Linked DNA regions of Homo sapiens: all the other regions are linked to region 1. Evidence: promoter capture Hi-C in human tissues and cell types (Jung and others, 2019). All regions are on one chromosome and are shown on one strand. The core of a region is centred on a gene start or on the middle of the fragment in contact, and the rest is flanking DNA. Distances in the headings are between cores, read along the strand shown. Region 1 holds the start of DNAJB14 (DnaJ heat shock protein family (Hsp40) member B14). Region 2 overlaps PPP3CA (protein phosphatase 3 catalytic subunit alpha). Region 3 overlaps TSPAN5 (tetraspanin 5).

Region 1 (3,351 bases), core at 815-3,314:
TTTGATTTATATGTATAACTCAATGAATTTTTACTTCATACTTGAGCTGCATGTTTTTAAAGATACCTTTCAAGTTGAACAGTATACACTTTCTTGGTTTCAAATACTGTGATTTTTTAAAAAATCTTAAGTAGAATTAATTCCTGTCACTCTCCTAGGTGTCATTCCACACATCCACAAATCTCTGATTGGGAAGAAAGGACAACAGAAGACTGTCTAAAGGATGCCTGGATTCCTTGTTATCTCAGGACTCTAAATACTCTAACAGCTGTCCAGTGTTGGTGATTCCAGTGGACTGTATCTCTGTGAAAAACACAATTTTGCCTTTTTGTAATTCTATTTGAGCAAGTTGGAAGTTTAATTAGCTTTCCAACCAACCAAATTTCTGCATTCGAGTCTTAACCATATTTAAGTGTTACTGTGGCTTCAAAGAAGCTATTGATTCTGAAGTAGTGGGTTTTGATTGAGTTGACTGTTTTTAAAAAACTGTTTGGATTTTAATTGTGATGCAGAAGTTATAGTAACAAACATTTGGTTTTGTACAGACATTATTTCCACTCTGGTGGATAAGTTCAATAAAGGTCATATCCCAAACTAGTTGTGTATTAAATTTGCTTGGTTGTAATAGGAACTTGTTTTGAGTATCTCATCTAGCAGCAATAACTAAGCACATTTCTTTGTGACTGAACTGTCAAATCTGTAGATCAACAAAGTGAGATAGCCCAAGTATATTTTTTTAATGTTATATGAGCTACTAAAGTTTTAATTTAAAAAGTTGGCAGGAGCTGGAGTGGGATTGTCAGTTTCTTAGGCTAAGTGTGACCATTTCAGTTTGTACATTGGCTTCGCTTGCTGTGTGACAGCACTGCACTAGTATGCTGTTAGCATGGTGGACTTGGGGAGGGAGAGAATAGGTAGGAATGTCCTGTATATCCACAGAATGAACTCCGAATTTAAACTTTAAAGATAATAGTGCTACGTGCCAGGCCCTGCTTTGAAGTCTGAAGTTGTTAAGTACTCAGTAACATCATTGGGGATATACTATCTCCATTTTATCGAAGAGAAGCAGGGTTTCTTATTTGAAAGTACCGAGTTATGGTAGTTAGCAGAATTAACAGCTTGGCTCACAGCATTATGTAAAAATTGTTACCTTGTGGTTGGGTTGAGCAGGTCATTTTGACAGTTTGTCATGTTTTTTTTTAAAAAATTTGCACATAGCAAACATTCCCCCCACCCCCACCGCGAAGACTAACAAGACACGGTACTTCCAAGTGGTAATGTTATCCAAATGGGACGGAAAAGGTGAAATCAAAAGTTTGCTTTCGTTAGGGCAGCCCCTGAGGGGCTGATTCCTGCCTTGTTTTGGCTACACAGGATTAAGGTCGATCTGCACCACTCGTTGCAAGCTACAAATTAAACTGCTTTGTACTTTGGATAGCCAGACATCCGGGTCAGAAAAAATGTAGCTGAAATAAGGCTGCCATACAAGCCCTAAGATTAGGTTCAAACGACGCTCTAACGTGTCCCGGAAGTGCTGAGACTGGACTGACACCTTGGTCCTCACCTGACCGCATCCTCCCTCGCTTGAGGGGCCCAGAGGCGGAACCTCCAAGTCCTGGCAATTTTACTGAAAACGAGTGTCCCCTTCCCGGACCCTGTCCTCCTGGCCTGAGCTGCGAGGGCCTCGCCTGGAGGTCACAGGGCACGGCGCTACCAATGCCGGCAATCGGGTCCCGGGCGGAACCCCTCCCCGCGATGGGCAGCCCGGCTGCTATCGTCCGCCTCCCGGGCAGGTCCGCTTCGAGCCTGCTGGCGCCGTGCGCGGACCACCGAGTCAGCTCGGACGCCCCGGCCCAGGAGGTTGGTCCTGGGCCGGGACGGATGCGGATCGCGCCCTAGGGGCCCGCGGGGGGCGGGGAGGCCGCCGTGAGGAGGCGGAGCTGCGAGGCCCGCCCGTCCGCCCGGGCCGTCGCAGCCGCTGCCGCGGTCCCCTGCGCTCCTCCCCGCTGCCGCCGCACGCCCCCAGCCGGTCCCGCCTCGCCTCCTCCGCGGCGGCGGCTTCCGCCCTTCTTAGCTGCGCTGCCGGAGGAAACGGAAGAAGGAGCAAGCTATGGAGGGGAACAGGGATGAGGCTGAGAAATGTGTCGAGATCGCCCGGGAGGCCCTGAACGCCGGCAACCGCGAGAAGGCCCAGCGCTTCCTGCAGAAGGCCGAGAAGCTCTACCCACTGCCCTCGGCCCGCGGTGAGACCTCAGCGTCCCTTCTCTTCCTGCCCAATCCCCAGACCACCGCGTAGCCCGCCCCTGCCCCCACCTCGGCCCCTCCTGGAGGCCTGCGGGGCCCCCGGCCTGTCTGAGCCAGCCCCAGCCCCAGGCCCGGTGGGGAGCATCCCGACACACCCCCGCCCTGGCCCCAGCCCCGGCTCCGGGCTGGGGCTCGGGGAATGCTGCGCGAGGTTCCTCTGCACCCGCCTGCCCGCCGGCTCCGCGTTCCGCTGTCCTAAATGTCCGGGTTTCATTCTCCCTGGAGGAGACTTGTCTGGTCCCGTCTTACCACAGTGAGGCTTTATTTGTATCTGTGTTGTTTATGTGGCCCCCTCCCTCCCCATTCTCAGTCCTACATAAGGCCTAGGCCCCTATCGAAGTGAGAGGAATGGTGTACTCTAGTGGCTAATCTCAGATTCCATGTTTCTGAGATCTGTAGAAAACTGTTCCCAAAGCAAACATCGAATACCTGAGATGACATTGCTTTTCCCTGGGAGAGAGTTCCTTTAAAAGAGAAGAGCACACTTTCGGCAAGAATGGTCAAGAGTCAGTAATGATTGCTGAAGAGTATCTGATTTGATAACACCATGATTATCGACGAACCAAATCTCTGAGGAATATGGTACTGGGTTTCCTTTAGTTGAAGTCAGCTTATTTATTTTCCTACTCGATAGGCTTCGGAGTAATAATAGCCAACATTTATTGAGCACAAAGTGCCAATAGTTGTGCCCAACATTTTGCATGGATTATTTCATTTATTCCTCAGAACAATTCTGTGTAGAGGTGCAGGATTCATTTGACCAGGTTTACCCACGTGGAAACAGACTTTCTGATAATTAATGAATGAATTAGCGAATGAATGAAAGTATCTTACCCAAGGTCACACAACAATTAGTAGCAAAGTCAGAATAGTAGCTGAACTTTCAGACTCGAAAAGGCCTTTAACCGCTACACTGTTGCCTTGCCATTAGTATTTCCAGGTTAAGAAGAAAGTTATCGATAGATTCAATTAATTGTAGAAAATTATTAATGAAAATATGGGGCCACTTGTTTTGTTGTCTCTTAAATTTTTTTCTCTACGTCGTTG
Region 2 (3,262 bases), core at 444-2,943, 1.1 Mb before region 1:
TGCCCCAACTCTTTCTCATAGAGTATCGACACTGGCTCTTTTGATTTCTCCTCTTGCTATTTCTATCCTCTTCCTGGTACAGTCACTAAAGAGTAACTGAATGACTTAATGCCAAAAGAGGTAGCCATGAGAAGGATGAAAAGCATTATCATGCTCTCTCAGAGACACCACATCAAAGGCAGTGAGAACTCTGTGGTAGCCAGCACATTCACGACCAGCCATGTTCAAGCGGAAAATAGGGCATCATTGCTCCCTTCCGTTATTGAATGAGGCTACCTTTGCTCTATTGCTGTACGTTTCCAACTACATTTTCAGGGCTTATTCATTCATGCCATAAGTAAATATAGTGAAACTTAAAGCATTGATTATGTACCATGGAGAAAAGAAATAAGGCAATGTAGAGATGGAGCAAGTGGGAGATAAAGAACTTCTTTTAGTGTGTGGTCAACAAAAAACTTTCTGAGTAATGGTATTTGGGCAAGCATAGGTGACCTTCATGAAGAAATGAGGTAAGGGAGTTCAAGGCAAAGACAATAGCAAGTGCAAAGATACTTAAGTAAAGACAAAACTGGCAGTTTTGAGGACCACAAGGAGGCCTGTATGGCTAGAAAAATGTTCTGTGGGGACAAAGGCGTATATGAAGGTCATAAGCTTAATTGGAATTCTGAGTAAACACTTGTTTATTTATTGTGCCTCAGATTTACCAATAATGCTTTTATTTCTTATTCTGTCTGAAGTCTCTGAGGGAAAGTAAAAACAGCTCTAGAATTTCCATGACTATCCCGTGATAAATGGACTATTTGAACCCAGTGATGAGTGACTTGACTTAAAATTGCACATGTTAATAGAAAATAAAAGCAAGCTCTATATTATTGTTTTTCTATAATAAAAGCATCCATAACACATATGCAGAATATAGAGAGATCCTATCCAGAAAAAAGTAAGTTAAGCTTAGTAAATAATGATTGAGCATTAACTGTATACCATGCACTGAATTAGGCAATCTAGATACCAAATTGGAATGCCAGCCAGATAGACAATAAACTAACAAAAGAAAATAAAGTGGCCGGGCGTGGTGGCTCACGCCTGTAATCCCAGCACTTTGGGAGGCCGAGGTAGGCAGATCACAAGGTCAGAAGTTCGAGACCAGCCTGAGCAACATGGAGAAACCCTGTCTCTACTAAAAATACGAAAATTAGCCGGGCATGGTGACACGTGCCTGTAATCCCAGCTACTCAGGAGGCTGAGGCAGGAGAATCTCTCAAACCCAGGAGGCGGAGGTTGCAGTAAGCCGAGATCGCGCCACTGCACTCCAGCCTGGGTGACAGAGCAAGACTCCATCTCAAAAAAAAAAAAAGAAAAAAAAAGTGTGTGCTAAATAACTACATGAATAGATACCCTGCTGTGGCATTAGACAGGAAGGAACCTTGTGTTTCCTGACTGGAGTGTTCATAAAGAGGTTAAAATTGGAGGAGTGCTGTGAAGGATAGGCTGGATTCCAGGGCAGGGAGAGATGTGGTGAAGGCATTCCTGGAAGTGGAAAAATTATCAGGAGCACAGCCACACAATCCTAAGAGCACTATCAATGGCATCCTTTTATGGGGCACTTGCTAAGTGCCAGGTTCATGCCCCATGTTATGCACATTTGACAATCATCGACACAGGAAGCTTGCAAGGTTGTGGTGACTTCACTTTGCTGTGAGGAAATTGAATCTGAGAGAGGCTAAGCAGAGTGTCCAAACTCCCTCAGTTGGGGAGCAACACTAATGAGAGTCTTACTCAAAACTGTGCTATGTAGTCTAGTATAAATTCTTAGCAATACTAGTAGTCTAGTAATGAATTCTAAATGTATTAAAGGACTGACTAGCAAAAGACATGAAGGTGAGTGAGGAATCTAGTTTAAAAGGAGACTGAAAATATACTGAAGTCCATATCCTTGAGTGTTTTGAATAGCATGTTAAAACATTTAATTTTTGTGTGTGTAGGCAATCAGGAGTTGTAGAATTATTTTCGTGAGATTAGAGGCATGCTCTAACCCATGTTTCACTATACATGTTAATTGCAACGTGAAGATTGGCTAGCAAGGTGACGTATGGATAATGAAAAAAGTGAATAAATATAAAATAAAATGTAAATTAAAAAAAAAAACCATTTAGGAAGCTTTTGAAGTAATCCCAGCAAAAGGCTGGACCAGGCTATGGGGAGAGAAGTGCAAAGGAAAGGACAAATACAAGGAATTTGGGAAAACAGGACGTGATTAATGAATGTGGAATGTGGTACAAATTTGTCAGGTATACTTGCCCAACATGTTTCTTACGTTTTGGAAATGTGCAACCTTATAAGGGAACCAGAAAACTGTCTTTCAGCAGTCCTTGCAGATAAAATACAAGTCTGTTGCCTAGGGTTTGCCAGTCAGATAAATGCATGTAAGCAAGGCTTTGTTTCAAATTGAGCATCATGAGGAAGCAGCAAGGCAGGACAACAATTGTCCTGTCAGGTGTGGAATCTCATGGGCCAGCAGTGGAAGAGCTTCCACCTCAGCATTTTGGGAGCTAACTACACAGCATTAGTATGAGCTCTGGCATTGGCTGTGAACATCAGTGGCAAGCCTTTCATGGAGCCCACCCCACAGTATGAACAAGTACTGTTACCCTTCCCAGCTACAGAGCATCGAAGCCCAGTTCTCTGGATCTGTGAGCTCTCTAATACCTTTAATATATCTCTTTCCTGTTAAAATTAGCCAGAATAGATTTCCGGTGTTGGCTGTGAGAACCCTTACCTATATGAGAGGCTACAAGAGAGAGGAAGTATTCCAGAATATTCTACAGGGGTTCCAGTCTATGCCATTGATAGGATGCCATTGTCTAAAGAAGAGGAAGTACTTTTCAATTTAAATACCTAACAGGTATTTATCGGGAAGAGTAGGATGCACTGAATTTGGCAGAGCATTTATGTAGAGGCACTTAGAAATTCTGCCCTGGAGGTTCAGAGAGAGGCGAGGGTTAGAAATGTGGACATAAGGCTGGGTGCGGTGGCTCACGCCTGTAATCCCAACACTTTGGGAGGCCAAGGCGGGTGGATCATGAGGTCAGGAGATCGAGACCATCCTGGCTAACATGGTGAAACCCCATCTCTACTGAAAATACAAAAAAATTAGCTGGGCGTGGTGGCAGGTGCCTGTAGTCCCAGCTACTCAGGAGGCTGAGGCAGGAGACTGCCATAAACCCCGGAGGCGGGGCTTGCAGTGAGCCGAGATTGCGCC
Region 3 (3,160 bases), core at 216-2,715, 1.4 Mb after region 1:
ATACATTTTAATTAAGAGTTCCACAGGAACATTTTCTTCTTTTTTTGTGTGTGTTAAAAACAGTGTTTATTTTGACCCATTTAATTGATTTTGACTATCCACTGTAGGAGGCTACCCACAATTTGGAAGGAACCATCGGGCCTAGATGACAATAAACCCTTTGAGGGCAGGGAATGTATTTTGCACTTCTGCGTCCTCATAGGCCCAACAGGTTACGAGAAGATCCAGTCTGTTGATGGATTTTGTGCTGGGAGTAGGCAGGATGGAGAGACTTATTCAAATTTCAAATTATTTATTGAGTGCCCCTTTGCAAGAATTGGCCAGTTAAACCCTGGGGGGCAGCTTTGTAGCTGCACTACTCGGGAGCCTGCACCCTCTTGAAGACATCATGCCAGCGTCTCCTGCACTTGGCCGTGTAGGCTGCAGCACAGCTGTTTCTGCTACAATCAGCTCCAGTATTTGTATTCCTCCTCTTGAGGCCGAGGCTTGTTCGTTGGCCCCAGGGAATGTGTTGTGTTGGGGTTTGAATCTCCTGTCCTGCGTGCGGTGCCCCTGCCAAGGGCTGTGCACCCACCTGTCCCAGATGGGTCTTGCGTCATGTTTTCCCTGCTATGCTGGTGGTGACAGCATCCTGCTGTCTCAGAGTAAAGCTCAGCTGCATATATGCCACCCGCCCTCCTCCACAGCATCCAGGCTTCCAGTGTAAAAGCCTCTTACAACATCAGGCGGGAGAAAACAAGCCTGCCGCTTGTGGTGCCTTAGCACCAATTTGTCACCCACTTCACTCAGCCCTGGCCCCCTGCTTCTCCTCTGTATGGTATCTTTTTTTCCCATGGCTGCTCCAGCTGGGCTCTGGCCTGACACTGGAATCACATGTTTTGGCTCTAGCCTTTGGTATTATTCTCGAGGTTGTCAGCATACATCCCCACTGCCATCTTTTTCTAATGCAAAGGTCTTTTCATTAATGGATATTTTTTCCTGTGAGACTTGTTTAGGGGAGAGATGCATCCCTCATTTCCCCACCCCCACCCGCCATAAGGTTTTTACAAGCCAAGCTAGAGATTGCTTTCCAGCCACTTTCAGAAAAATGCTGGGGCTCCACTTTGTGTTTAGCACAATCAGCACACATAATTCTTGTTCTGCTTGGGCTCTGTTCAATGTCACTTGCTCCTCCTGACCCTAGAAAGAGTTGAGAATTATAAGCACGGATTATAAGGACTCATAATCTCAGTTGCCAGAGTAAGGGAAATAACGTTTTCACCGGTTCCCTGAAATAGACCTGGCGGACAGCTGTTGCCTCCCCTCCCCTTTCCTCTCATTTCCCCTGGAGATGTACTCTGCCTGTTTCTTCTCCTCGCTAAAACTAAGGAACTTTCCCTTGTGTTTTCTTTTGGCTTCTAGATTGTTCACTTGGCTTTTTATCTAAGCTTGTATTAAATTGCTTCATGATCTGTGCCTGCAGAGGCTTTGGCATAACATGGCTCACAGAGAAGTGTTGTTTGTTGTGGTTGGACCACTTTGTTGCAGCAGCATCTGTTCTTGTCTGAATGGGGCATGCAGGTGAAGCATGTACTCTAGGCCACTGAAAAAGGAGGGAACACAGGCACCTGGACTGACCATTGGCAGCTGTGATCTACTTATGTGACTCTCAGACAGCCTCTCAGCTGCTTGTGATAAAGGCTACAAAATTCCAGGCAGCTTTTTGGTCCCCATAACAAGTATATATAACTCCTACTTTAAGCAGTCCAAATTTAATACAGAGCAATGGGATGAGATGTATGTAGGTGGTGTCACATCCACAAGAATATCTTTAATCATTATTCTTTTCAGCAATTCAGTTTCAAGAGGAATAAGTGAATTTAGGAAATTTGTATATGGGAAAACATTGTCAATCAGTAAATGCGTGGTCTACTGTGTATATTTTCTCCTCAGTTCTTTAAGGCCCCCAAAATGGGATGAAAATTTGCTCAAAAGCTCTCATGCAAAATTATAAGAATATGGAGATATATTAGGAAATGGACAGATAAATATGCTTTCAAGAATCTTATTAAAGTGCTCAACAGTTATATGAAACATGCAAGTATAAGTTGAAAATTTAACTGACATGTGGACATTGAATGTTTCTGTGATTTTAATGAAAAAAAATTCAAGGAACAAGGGGGAAAAACACCAACCGTCAAAAGGAAAAATGCCCTCTATCTACTCATGCAAATAGTCCCCTTGTTCATAGCAGTCACAAAGGATATGACGAGCCATATTGTGCAGGATCCAAGGTTCATGAGAAGTAGGTTTGTAGGTGGCAGGTAGTGGGAAAGTGATTTATGTCCCATGAAAACCCATTCAGCTGTTGTAGCACTTCCAGGGCCTGTGACGTGTGAGGGAGCCATTGTCTTAACACTCAGGGTGAGGACAAAAAGGCTTCAGTTGCTGAAAGGTGCTGGTTTGAGATGGTGATATCCTGTCTCTTTTTCCAGCAGAAGCAGGAACATGATGTCTAGGGTTTTTAAAAGAAAAAGCTTTTGTTCTTTTTTATTTAGTGACAGTAGAAATTAAAGTAGGGCCTTAAAAATTAGAAACACACGTGAACCCCAGGGGGCGAAGCCTGCAGTGAGCCGAGATCATGCCACTGCACTCCAGCCTGGGTGACAGCAAGACTCCATCTCAAAAAAGAAAAAAAAAAAAAAATTTAGAAACACAGTCAATTTTAATGTCAAGACCCAAGCCTCAGCAGTTAAATCGGATGCCTCCTTAAAAAATGTGTGAAAGTTATTTACCCTCATTTCAATTTGGGGCAACAAATGAATGGCTACTTAGGTTAGGTGTGGGAAGCATTAATTAATAATGGGATAAAAGGACTCAGTGAGATTAACTTAGATCACCTATATTTAGCTTCTGATTTTACTTCATTCTGTTTGCTTCTTTCATTAATCTAAATTAACTGCCAGAATTGCATTTATTAGTATGTAGGAGAACAATAATCAAGAAGTGTTTTTATTTATATTCGTAGGAGGCTATGTTGTTATTCATGTGATTCTTAGAAAATAATGGATTTTACACAGGAAAAGATGTTTATACTTTTCAAAGATCTTACTCATTTGGGGTAAGAATTTGATAGAAATGCTAGGATTTGGTGTATAGAAAAGCATGTAAACTGTATGTA

The links. Contacts are between HindIII fragments. The study calls those that stand out against the background at their distance.
Region 2: a contact is called between a fragment that was not itself captured here and the fragment with the promoter of DNAJB14 in region 1, in 1 of the 25 tissues and cell types used here (dorsolateral prefrontal cortex).
Region 3: a fragment that was not itself captured here is called in contact with the fragment with the promoter of DNAJB14 in region 1 in 1 of the 25 tissues and cell types used here (aorta).

Annotation. Positions count from the first base shown.
Region 1 is chr4:99,945,331-99,948,681 of GRCh38, reverse strand. It overlaps DNAJB14 (DnaJ heat shock protein family (Hsp40) member B14), which reads left to right and starts at 2,064. Exons shown (of 8, transcript NM_001031723.4): 1 at 2,064-2,243. The coding sequence starts at 2,111. H2AZ1 (H2A.Z variant histone 1) reads left to right here. Exons shown (of 5, transcript NM_002106.4): 5 at 159-594. The coding sequence ends at 220. RefSeq lists a silencer at 1,801-2,460 and an enhancer at 2,631-2,680. The HindIII fragment of the contact is 13,922 bases long and covers 1-3,351 here.
Region 2 is chr4:101,036,470-101,039,731 of GRCh38, reverse strand. All of the region lies in intron 11 of PPP3CA (protein phosphatase 3 catalytic subunit alpha), which reads left to right. Among named protein-coding and RNA genes, the nearest start is that of LINC01218, 160 kb to the right of the region's middle. The HindIII fragment of the contact is 3,728 bases long and covers 1-3,262 here.
Region 3 is chr4:98,564,218-98,567,377 of GRCh38, reverse strand. The region is part of intron 1 of TSPAN5 (tetraspanin 5); the gene reads left to right. Among named protein-coding and RNA genes, the nearest start is that of TSPAN5, 93 kb to the left of the region's middle. The HindIII fragment of the contact is 6,619 bases long and covers 1-3,160 here.